Regions from separate parts of the Homo sapiens genome. Here regions 1 and 2 are each linked to region 3. Evidence: promoter capture Hi-C in 16 types of primary human blood cells and fetal thymus (Javierre and others, 2016). All regions are on one chromosome and are shown on one strand. Each heading gives the region's core, a stretch centred on a gene start or on the middle of the fragment in contact. The rest is flanking DNA. Distances are from core to core; before and after follow the strand shown.

What was found. Contacts are between HindIII fragments. The CHiCAGO score rates a contact against its expected background, and 5 or more counts as called.
Region 1: a contact is called between the fragment with the promoter of BLOC1S1 here and the fragment with the promoter of ATP23 in region 3, in 3 of 17 cell types (non-activated CD4 T cells, monocytes and neutrophils). The highest score is 7.6, in non-activated CD4 T cells.
Region 2: the fragment with the promoter of SARNP here is called in contact with the fragment with the promoter of ATP23 in region 3 in 1 of 17 cell types (neutrophils); the score reaches 5.9 in neutrophils.

What each region holds. Positions count from the first base shown.
Region 1 is chr12:55,714,796-55,717,383 of GRCh38, reverse strand. BLOC1S1 (biogenesis of lysosomal organelles complex 1 subunit 1) reads right to left here and starts at 1,338. Exons shown (of 4, transcript NM_001487.4): 1 at 1,188-1,338; 2 at 379-451. The coding sequence starts at 1,332. It overlaps BLOC1S1-RDH5 (BLOC1S1-RDH5 readthrough), which reads right to left and starts at 1,350. Exons shown (of 6, transcript NR_037658.1): 1 at 1,188-1,350; 2 at 379-451. It also overlaps a transcript of ITGA7 not described here. RefSeq lists enhancers at 634-873, 1,154-1,293. The HindIII fragment of the contact is 4,864 bases long and covers 406-2,588 here.
Region 2 is chr12:55,816,253-55,819,078 of GRCh38, reverse strand. SARNP (SAP domain containing ribonucleoprotein) reads left to right here and starts at 1,355. Exons shown (of 11, transcript NM_033082.4): 1 at 1,355-1,413. The coding sequence starts at 1,378. ORMDL2 (ORMDL sphingolipid biosynthesis regulator 2) reads right to left here and starts at 1,038. Exons shown (of 4, transcript NM_014182.5): 1 at 967-1,038; 2 at 1-80. The coding sequence starts at 79. The HindIII fragment of the contact is 4,326 bases long and covers 1-2,502 here.
Region 3 is chr12:57,939,912-57,943,031 of GRCh38, reverse strand. ATP23 (ATP23 metallopeptidase and ATP synthase assembly factor homolog) reads right to left here and starts at 1,465. Exons shown (of 6, transcript NM_033276.4): 1 at 1,144-1,465. The coding sequence starts at 1,330. RefSeq lists enhancers at 161-330, 787-1,596. The HindIII fragment of the contact is 6,393 bases long and covers 1-3,120 here.

The sequences.
Region 1 (2,588 bases), core at 89-2,588, 2.2 Mb after region 3:
AGAGGGTGGGAGGCAGAGGAGAGGGTGGTAAGCTGTAATGAAGGAGGGTGCTCTCCCTCCTGCTGAAGTGACAGCTGGACTTGGAAGGGTGAAGGGAGGTGGGCAGATGGCATCAAGTTGTAAATGCCAGGGAAGTTAACGTGGGGAAGGGGAAATCTGGCTGCTTCTCTAACCACGGCAGCTGTTCCTCCCTTGCCCAGTGCTAGGACTCAGAGTTGACTCAAGTTGCTCTACAAAGAGCTGGGAGGGGCGGGGTAGGATAGGGGAATTAGTGGAACATCCCACCCCTTCAACAGCTATTTGAGGGCCAGACTGGCCAGTGCCTAAACTTGGGCGGGGTGGGGAAGGAGGAAACTGATGTTGATAAGAGGTCCATACCCCACATTGAGGTGATCCACCAAAGCTTCTGTCAGGCAGGTCGCTGCAGTGATAGCCTCTCGCCTCCTCTTTTCTGGGGAGAGGGGGAAAAGGAATTGGAGGGGAGACTTGGTTTTTTGAGGGGTAGTGTTAAAGGTTCCCTACCCATCCATTACTATTCTGCTAGTTGCCGAAATTTCTTAACTAATCTCTGAATGCCGGAGCTGAAAAGGACCTTGCAAAACATAGCGCAACCTCTTTCATTTTAGAGATGAGGAAACTGGTACCCTGGGAGGGAAATGGACTCACTCAGGGACGCCAGGAAGTCAGCGGCAGCGCCCAGGACTCCTGACTCCCAGGCACTCTTTCTCCACTACTCGGCCGCAGAATCGGTAACTCCGAGATTTCCAGCCCGGACTCAGGAAACAAGTGCCCCACCTCCGTTCCGGTGGTTTCAGGCCTCCAAGAAGCCCATCTCTGGGGGGTTCCCCACACCCTCCTCCCTCCAGAGTCGCTCCTTCCCGCCGCCAGGACGAGAGGCTCCCAGGGCCAATAGGCAGGGCGCTCCGGGGCAGGGGCGGGGCTAAGGTGCGGCAGGTCGGGGATTGGGGGCGTTGCCGAGGGGACCGGAGTATTGCCCAAGGGACCGGAGCCAGTTGGCAAGGGAAAGGAGTTTCAAAAAAAGCCTCTCTGAAATTCCCTCTCCCCCATGCCCGTTGCCCGCTAGCTGGCGTCTTTCCCTGGATATGGTTAGTTACTCGAGATCCAGGCTCCGGGCTGAAGCTAGGCCGCGGCCGAAGAGAAAACGGCCGACAGGATATTTGGCTCACCCTGCAGCTCCTTGCGTTCATTCTGCTTGGCCTGGTGTTCTTTTAGGAGGCGGGACAGCATGGTCACGTCGGGCTGGGGGCTGGGTACGCCGGGCCCCCTCCGGCTCCGGAAGCTGGAACGCTCACCTCGGCTCCCCGGGGCCATGTCACGTGACCGCTGTGTCACGTGAGGTTGGGAACCGCCCTCTTGAGACCTTGGGTGAAGATCTTGGCGGGGAAGAGAGGTAGAGGGTTGCGGAGGGCAGGTGAAGTGTTCTTTATTGGGAGCTTAGTTTTTGGTGAGTGTTGGAAGAAGTATTTTCTAATACTTATATTGCCAAGCCAGTTTTTAACATTTCCTGTGGATCTCAGGCTTCGAGGGCTGGTGGTGTCAGGCCGTCTATCACCGTTTAATTGAGGGAGCAGAAGCTCCCTGGCCTCATTTAAATTATTCTCCTTCCCTCTCCTCACCTCCTGGCAGTGCTAGCTGGTTCTCAGTTGATTCCCAGTTCCTTCCCTCAAGGAGAGGATGCTTTCCTGTCTCTCCCAACCCTCTTTCTTCTCACTACCCCACTGAAGTCTCTCAGCTCTGGGTGATCATTGTAGAGAAGCATTTTAGGCACTTCAGACAGCCTCCTAGGGAGCTTGGCTAACTTGGCGGGCTGTGTGAATGTAGAATTTCATCTCTGTCCTTTTGTGGTCAGGAATGCGAACCCATTTCAGTGTTAGCAGAAGCGTAAGTGCTGTGCCAAAGTAAAAAGTAATTTATATAAGGCCTCTGTGAACTAAAAAGAAATGCTTCCGGGATTAACTCCAGCGAGAACAATTATAAACATCATGAGCATATTCTTGCTACTGGTACAATCTCTCTCGGTGCACCTTGCACTAACATGTTGGGTGACTTTGGGCAAGTTGCTCACCATTCTAGGTTATAGTTTTCTCTTTAGTAAAACTAGGAGAAGGGATTGGATTAAATCGGTGGTTCTCAACCCTGGCTAAGCATTAGAATCTAAACATTAGAATCACAGAAATCACAAGGCTTATAAAAATGCCGTGATTAGCCGGGTGCGGTGGCTCACGCCCGTAATCCCAGCACTTTGGGAGGCCGAGGCGGGCGGATCACGAGGTCAGGAGTTCGAGACCAGGCTGACCAACATGGTGAAACCTTGTATCTACTAAAAATACAAAATTTAGCCAGGCGTAGTGGCACAAGCCTGTAATCCCAGCTACTCAGGAGCCTGAGGCAGGAGAATCGCTTGAACCTGGGAGGCAGAGGTTGCAGTGAGCCGAGATCACGCCACTGAACTCCAGCCTGGGCGACAGAGTGGGACTCTGTCTCAAAAAAAAAAAAAAAAAAGCCTTGATTCCAGACTAATTAAATAGAATCTAAGGAGTGAAGACCAAACATCACTATATATATGT
Region 2 (2,826 bases), core at 106-2,605, 2.1 Mb after region 3:
TGTAGGCCAGCCAGATGCCTCGGCTATTCATCACTCGGGTGTTGGGGTTTACTTCGCTGTGTGCCACCCCCACATTCATCCTAGCCGTAATGGGGGATCAGGCAGGAGTCCAGCTCAGTTTTTTCTCAACCCCTCTTGAGCTATCTCCCAGTTGTCTCTCAGATAGCCCCAATCCCCTGAACTCTATTGGGAATGAAGAACTTACCCATCACGCAGAAAATAAAAACTGAAGACTTGGGGAAAACTTTAAAAGACAAGAAGAGTCCTCACTACATTTCAGAGACATAGTCATTATTGCTCTGATCTTTACACGTCAACTGTAACATGAAGGTGTATGTGTAGGCTTGGGGCACTCACTTCAGGGAGCAAGGGAAATAGGAGTATCTGACTTTGCTGAAGAAGTTAATAACCATGAAGAGGTCACGTACACCCAGAATTCCAGGCGAAAGTCATGGAATCATCAAAGAACCACTAAGAAGGGATGACAGAGTAAAGCTCACTCTGGTCCCCACTTTGTTCTCTGGGGCTTGTCCACCCTCTCTCTCACCTCCGTGGCATGTAAACAGTCTGCATCCCCATTACTTCTCTCAAGCGTGGGGCACGACAACAACTTGCCCACGGCTTCTGGACTGGGTTAGGAAGGGACCTGAGCTCAATACCTCGAAAGGTGGAGCCTTGGCTCTGACTCCAGGGGCAGCAGTGATTATCTGAACTCGGATCTTTAAAATTGTGGTAGCTCTAAAGCTGATGATGTCTGGTTAGGAAGCGGCTCTTGCCCGCCCCAGCCCCACCGCCAGTTCCTTAAGCCCGCCCCATGCCCCTCCCAGCTTCCTCCTCATGTTCATCGGTTTTTTCAGGGCTCCCTTCAGCGCTCCCCTCTCAGTATTTAGGTCACCACTCCCTCGGCGCCCCTTTCGCCTCCCACCATTTTTCCTCAGCAACCCTTACAGTCTTTGCAGCTCCTACCTGCCAGCTCAGATCCCCGTCCGGCTATGGGCGCGGCGCCGGCTACCACACCTGAAGTCTCCAGGAAGTAACGCCTCTCCTTCTGCCCCTTTCCTATTGGAGGAACAGAATCAGCGCTGCCACCACCCATTGGTTGGTGGTCTGTAATGCAGAAGCACAGTTGGTTGCCATTTCTGTCGTTCGCAAGATACAGTGCCCGCCCCTCTCCCAGTTCCACCTTTTGAAAGAGGTGGGGCAAGCTGCCTAGAGAAGTGAGAGCGACGTCAGCTATTGACCAATGGGAAGAGCTGATGGTATGGCGTGGGAGCAAGAGTGACAACGATTGGTCAGCCTTGCATCTCTACGCCTAAGGCGGGAGCTCCTGGAGGCGGAGGCCGCGGGTGGGGGCCTAGTGGAGTGAGGGGTAACAAGATGGCGACCGAGACGGTGGAGCTCCATAAGCTAAAGGTACCGTGAATCGGGGAAGGGCTGAGTTGGACTTTTCTAGGAACTGAATTCTACAGGGTAGCTTGCGCCTTCTCCTACGTCTTCTCCGTGCAGCCTTTTCCACTTCGTTTCTCGGCTCCCGCCGTAGCTCTTTTGTGCCACCCTTCCACACTACGCCTTCCCTAATTTCCCATTTCTCCTCACGGCTTTACTGCTATATTTATTTGTTATTTCTGCTTCCTTCATCATTGTATCGTCCGTCACCCTTCCCCACTGGGTTGTGTAAGTGCCTTCTACCTGTTATACTCTTCGTTGCTTTTCAGGGCTGCATTACGTCAGTTGGTCCCTCCTTTTTGCCCCATGTCGGAGCCAGGATCCGTTTTTCTTCCCTGGGATGATGTTTCCAGTCTGTCGTCCGAAGCTGAGATTTCCCTGTTAGCAAATGGTGGCATTTTTGTGTATTTCTGTCTAAATAGGTACCAGACACTCAGAAAATACTTCCACTCCCCTTTTCTAGGTGGGATTACGCCCCAAGCCGAATTTTGAAACAGGGAGAGGCCTCTCAGAAGATCGGTCTCGCCTTAGAAGCCTGGGGTTGAGGAGGTCTTGAGAATAGTAGAAGTACAGACACCTCAGATTTAAAAGTTTTCGAGTTCTGTCACGCGGCTCTCGGCCCGCCAGCCTTCCTCACACACCATCTCCAACCACCAGAGAGAACTCACACCTGCAATATTTGGGAAAAACAATTCCAAGGTTAAGATTATCTCTGTTCCATTTCATATCTCGGGTGGGCCCTGCATCTCCTGGTGTTACCATTGGCTGACACTGAATCACAGAAGCTATTTTAAATTGTCTTATGAGACTCTTGGTAGTTTTTTCACACTTAGATATATAAAAAAGTTAAAAAAATATATTAAAAAGAAGAACATTTTAAAAAGTATTTTCTTTTAGGGTAAATTAAGATATCTTGAGTAATTGTCTGTTTGTGGTTTCACAAGTAGTTTTCCCATTAGATGTTTTGGACAAACCAGGCTGATATAGCTGAAACTGAAAAGTGATCCTTTAAAGCTCGAAAAGTTTTTTTTTGTTTTTGTTGCTGTTAAGAAAGCTTAAGGGTAGTAAGGGTAGGGAGAGGACCCTTCTTTAGTCACTTATTAGTTGACCCCAATTAGTCTTTCTGTGAAACTGATGTTTTTCTTACTCTTGGATTCTAAACTCTGTTAGTGGGTTTTTGTGTTATTCTGGAGTTATTGTTAACTTGATGATACTGAAATGCATAGACTATATCAGCGGTCTCTTGATCTTTATTGTGATGAGTTAAAAAAAATTGAGCAATCATCTCCACTTTGTTTATATATACTGTACTTATAGAAATTGTATACTTCTGGACTGTTATAAAATATAACACAGAAAAGGAATTTTTGAATGAGATAA
Region 3 (3,120 bases), core at 216-2,715:
CTTTCGGTGGTTGACTTTTGAACTGTGACTGACTAGCTATGAAATAGTAACCTTGCTTTGGGACAAGTATGTTTAAGACTAATTTTCTGAATGTATCTGAAAGTAAACTTAAGAAGTCTATGTCAATGTAAAGGAATTAAGAAATCTTCTCTAGTGCAATGTCTCTGGGACGGGAGAGAAATTTGTCAATGGGCAGTTGTGTCCCTGTTTAACCCACAGCAGTTCTTAACCTTTGTGGGGTCGTTGGCCTCTTTGAGAATATGATGAAGCTATTAACTCTCTCCCCCGACCAAAAAAAAATACACTTTGGGCCGGGCGCAGTGACTCACGCCTGTAATCCCAGCACTTTGGGAGGCCGAGGCAGGCAGATCACGAGGTCAGGAGATCAAGACCATCCTGGCTAACACGGTGAAAACCCGTCTCTACTAAAAATACAAAAAATTAGCAGGGTGTGGTGGCGAGCGCCTGTAGTCCCAGCTACTCGGGAGGCTGAGGCAGGAGAACGGCGTGAACCCAGTAGGCGGAGCTTGCAGTGAGCAAAGATCGCGCCACTGCACCCCAGCCTGGGCGACAGAGCGAGACTCCGTCTCAAAAAAAAAAAAAAAATGCACTTAGGGGCACACACACACACATACACACGATTTCACAGACCATTTCAGGGATTTCTACGCTCTGAAGCCCATTCATGCATGAACCACTTCCAAGGAACGGTAGGTTTGCAAAACTGCTTTTATATTTTTACAGCCTTGGTATGCCTTAATTACATTTTTACATTTTTACAGCCTTTGTGTGCCTTAATTAACCTGGCTGGCACTTTAAAACTTGGCCTCACCCTTACCCTGAAGTCACAGTGTGGCTGCATAACTTATGTAAGAAATCGGAGGATCTGTCACAACAGTGAGTGACAAAAAAGGGCAGACAAATTCATTCCACAAGCCAAAAACAGCGACGAAAAGGGTCTCAGCGCCACCTCTAGTGGGGAAACTGAGCCTCAGGCTCCCAACCCAGCCCCCATGATGCCCAGTCTGTCTAGACTCTGTGCTGAACCTGAAGCCCCTGGCCAGGTGTTGCCCAGGCCCTTCCTCGCCCACCCGGTCTCAGACCCATTCTGTGGAACCACAGCCTCCAGGTCATGGCTCCTACTTGTCTCCAGCGTCTTCAGGAGCCTAAGCTGGCACTTCTGGTTGCTGGTGAAGAAGCTGGAGAAGAACCCTTGCTGGGGATTCCCCTGGGCCAGACGCTCGGGGAAGACCTGGCAAGAGACGTGTTGCTGCTGCAGCTGCTCCCCTGCCGCGGGGCCCCGCCGGCGCTCGTCCGGAGCTCCCGCCATGCCTCCCGCAGACCTCGCCGCTGCTTCCTCCTGGCTCAGGCGGCCAGAGCGAGACTGGGAAAGGTAACCTCCCTCCCGCCAACGCGACCGCCCAGGCCCTCCCTCCGCAGGGAAGAAGGGCAGCCTGGCTGGGCTGAAGACGTTAGGCGGGAGGGGGCTTTGAACCTGACGGGGAGCGCGGGAGGCGGGGCGAGAGGCGAGGGGCGGGGCGAGAGGCGAGGGGCGGGGCGAGGGATGAGGGGCGGGGCGAGGGCATGGGGCGGGGCGCGGGGCCCGATGCTGTTGGGCGGAGCTGGGTCTTGCGACTTCCCTCAAAGGCTGTAACAACCCGGCTGCCGCGGATTTCGCTGCTGCCCTCCCAGTGTGGGTGACATGTCTTTATAAGCGTTGTTCTGCAGCTTCCTGCTGCCTGCTGAGCTCTAAGGGTGTCCCGCCTCCTCGCAGACACTCCTTCCTCACCTCGGGGCGAATATTGGCCACTAACTGCTCTTGTGCCGCCGAAGGTCTCGGCCATCCTCCCACTCCCTGCCTTCTTCCGGGGCAAGCCAGTTGTCATTTCTGGCCCGCCACTTTCCCGACCCCTGCCATCCCTCAGATCCACTCTGCCCAAAGATGCCTCTGGCCATATTGAAAGCAGTGTTTTTCAGAAACGTTTTAAAACTATAAAGAATGACTAGTCACATCAAAATCCTCAAAATGTAGGAACCAACTACATTTTTTCTTCCCACCTGTACCCATTCGTTTACCCTACTCTTCTGCCCCACCCCCCACCAATAACTCCCTGATAACAAAGCGCACCCTGTTTACTTCTACCTCTCAGCCTTAACTCATACTGTCATTTCCATCTTTAAGCTCCTTGCCTCAGCCCCTATGATTGGGGCCCAGGTCAAATCTGCCTACTCCACAGGGCATTCCCAGATACCTTAATCAAAATTAATGTCTCCTGATCTCCCAATGTACAAAGCACTTTGTACCTGTTAATCATTTTCATCGTAGCCTGCCAGGTTTTATCCAATTTGTGTGTTTCTCTTTTCCTACTAAATTATTCCACTCAGCTCACACATTTATTCAGCACCTACTATGATGGGCCAGGCAAGGTGTAAGAGACTGAGGAAACACATGACTAAGAAAATTGCTAAAGATGAAGAGCAGCATGTGGTTTATGTAAGAAACATATCTGAAAAATATAGGCTCAGCAGGCCTTTAGGGTTATGAACAGTGCTTTATGTGTCATAGATGCTCAATATCTAAATTGAGTGGGATGCTAGGATAGTCATTCATCTGGAATATTATAAAAATACAAACAACTCCTATGTACATAGACTATTAAAGCCAGAAGTCAAAAAAAAAGTAACTACTTTTTAATTAAATTCACCTTGGATACATTATTTCCAATCCTCACTACAACCCTGCAAAGTAAGTATTATCTCTAATTTGCAGATAAAGTGGGCTCAGCAAAATTCAATAATTTATCTAGGACCACACAACTAGCTTTCAATCCAGTTATTGAACTAAAACACACATATGGAAAACTAAGCCATTACAATTCAGTGTGATTAGTTTGGAATACTGAAGGCAGGCTAGATATGCCTAGAAATGGACCATAGCCTATATACATTTGAAATACTATTTGGATTTTTTTCATGCTTTCTTTTTTAATACATAGATTCAGGTGGTTTATGTGTAGGTTTATTATACAGATATATTGTGTAGTGGTGAGGTCTGGGCTTCTAGTGTACCCATCACCCAAACAGTGAACATTGTACCCAATAGTTAATTTTTCAACCCTC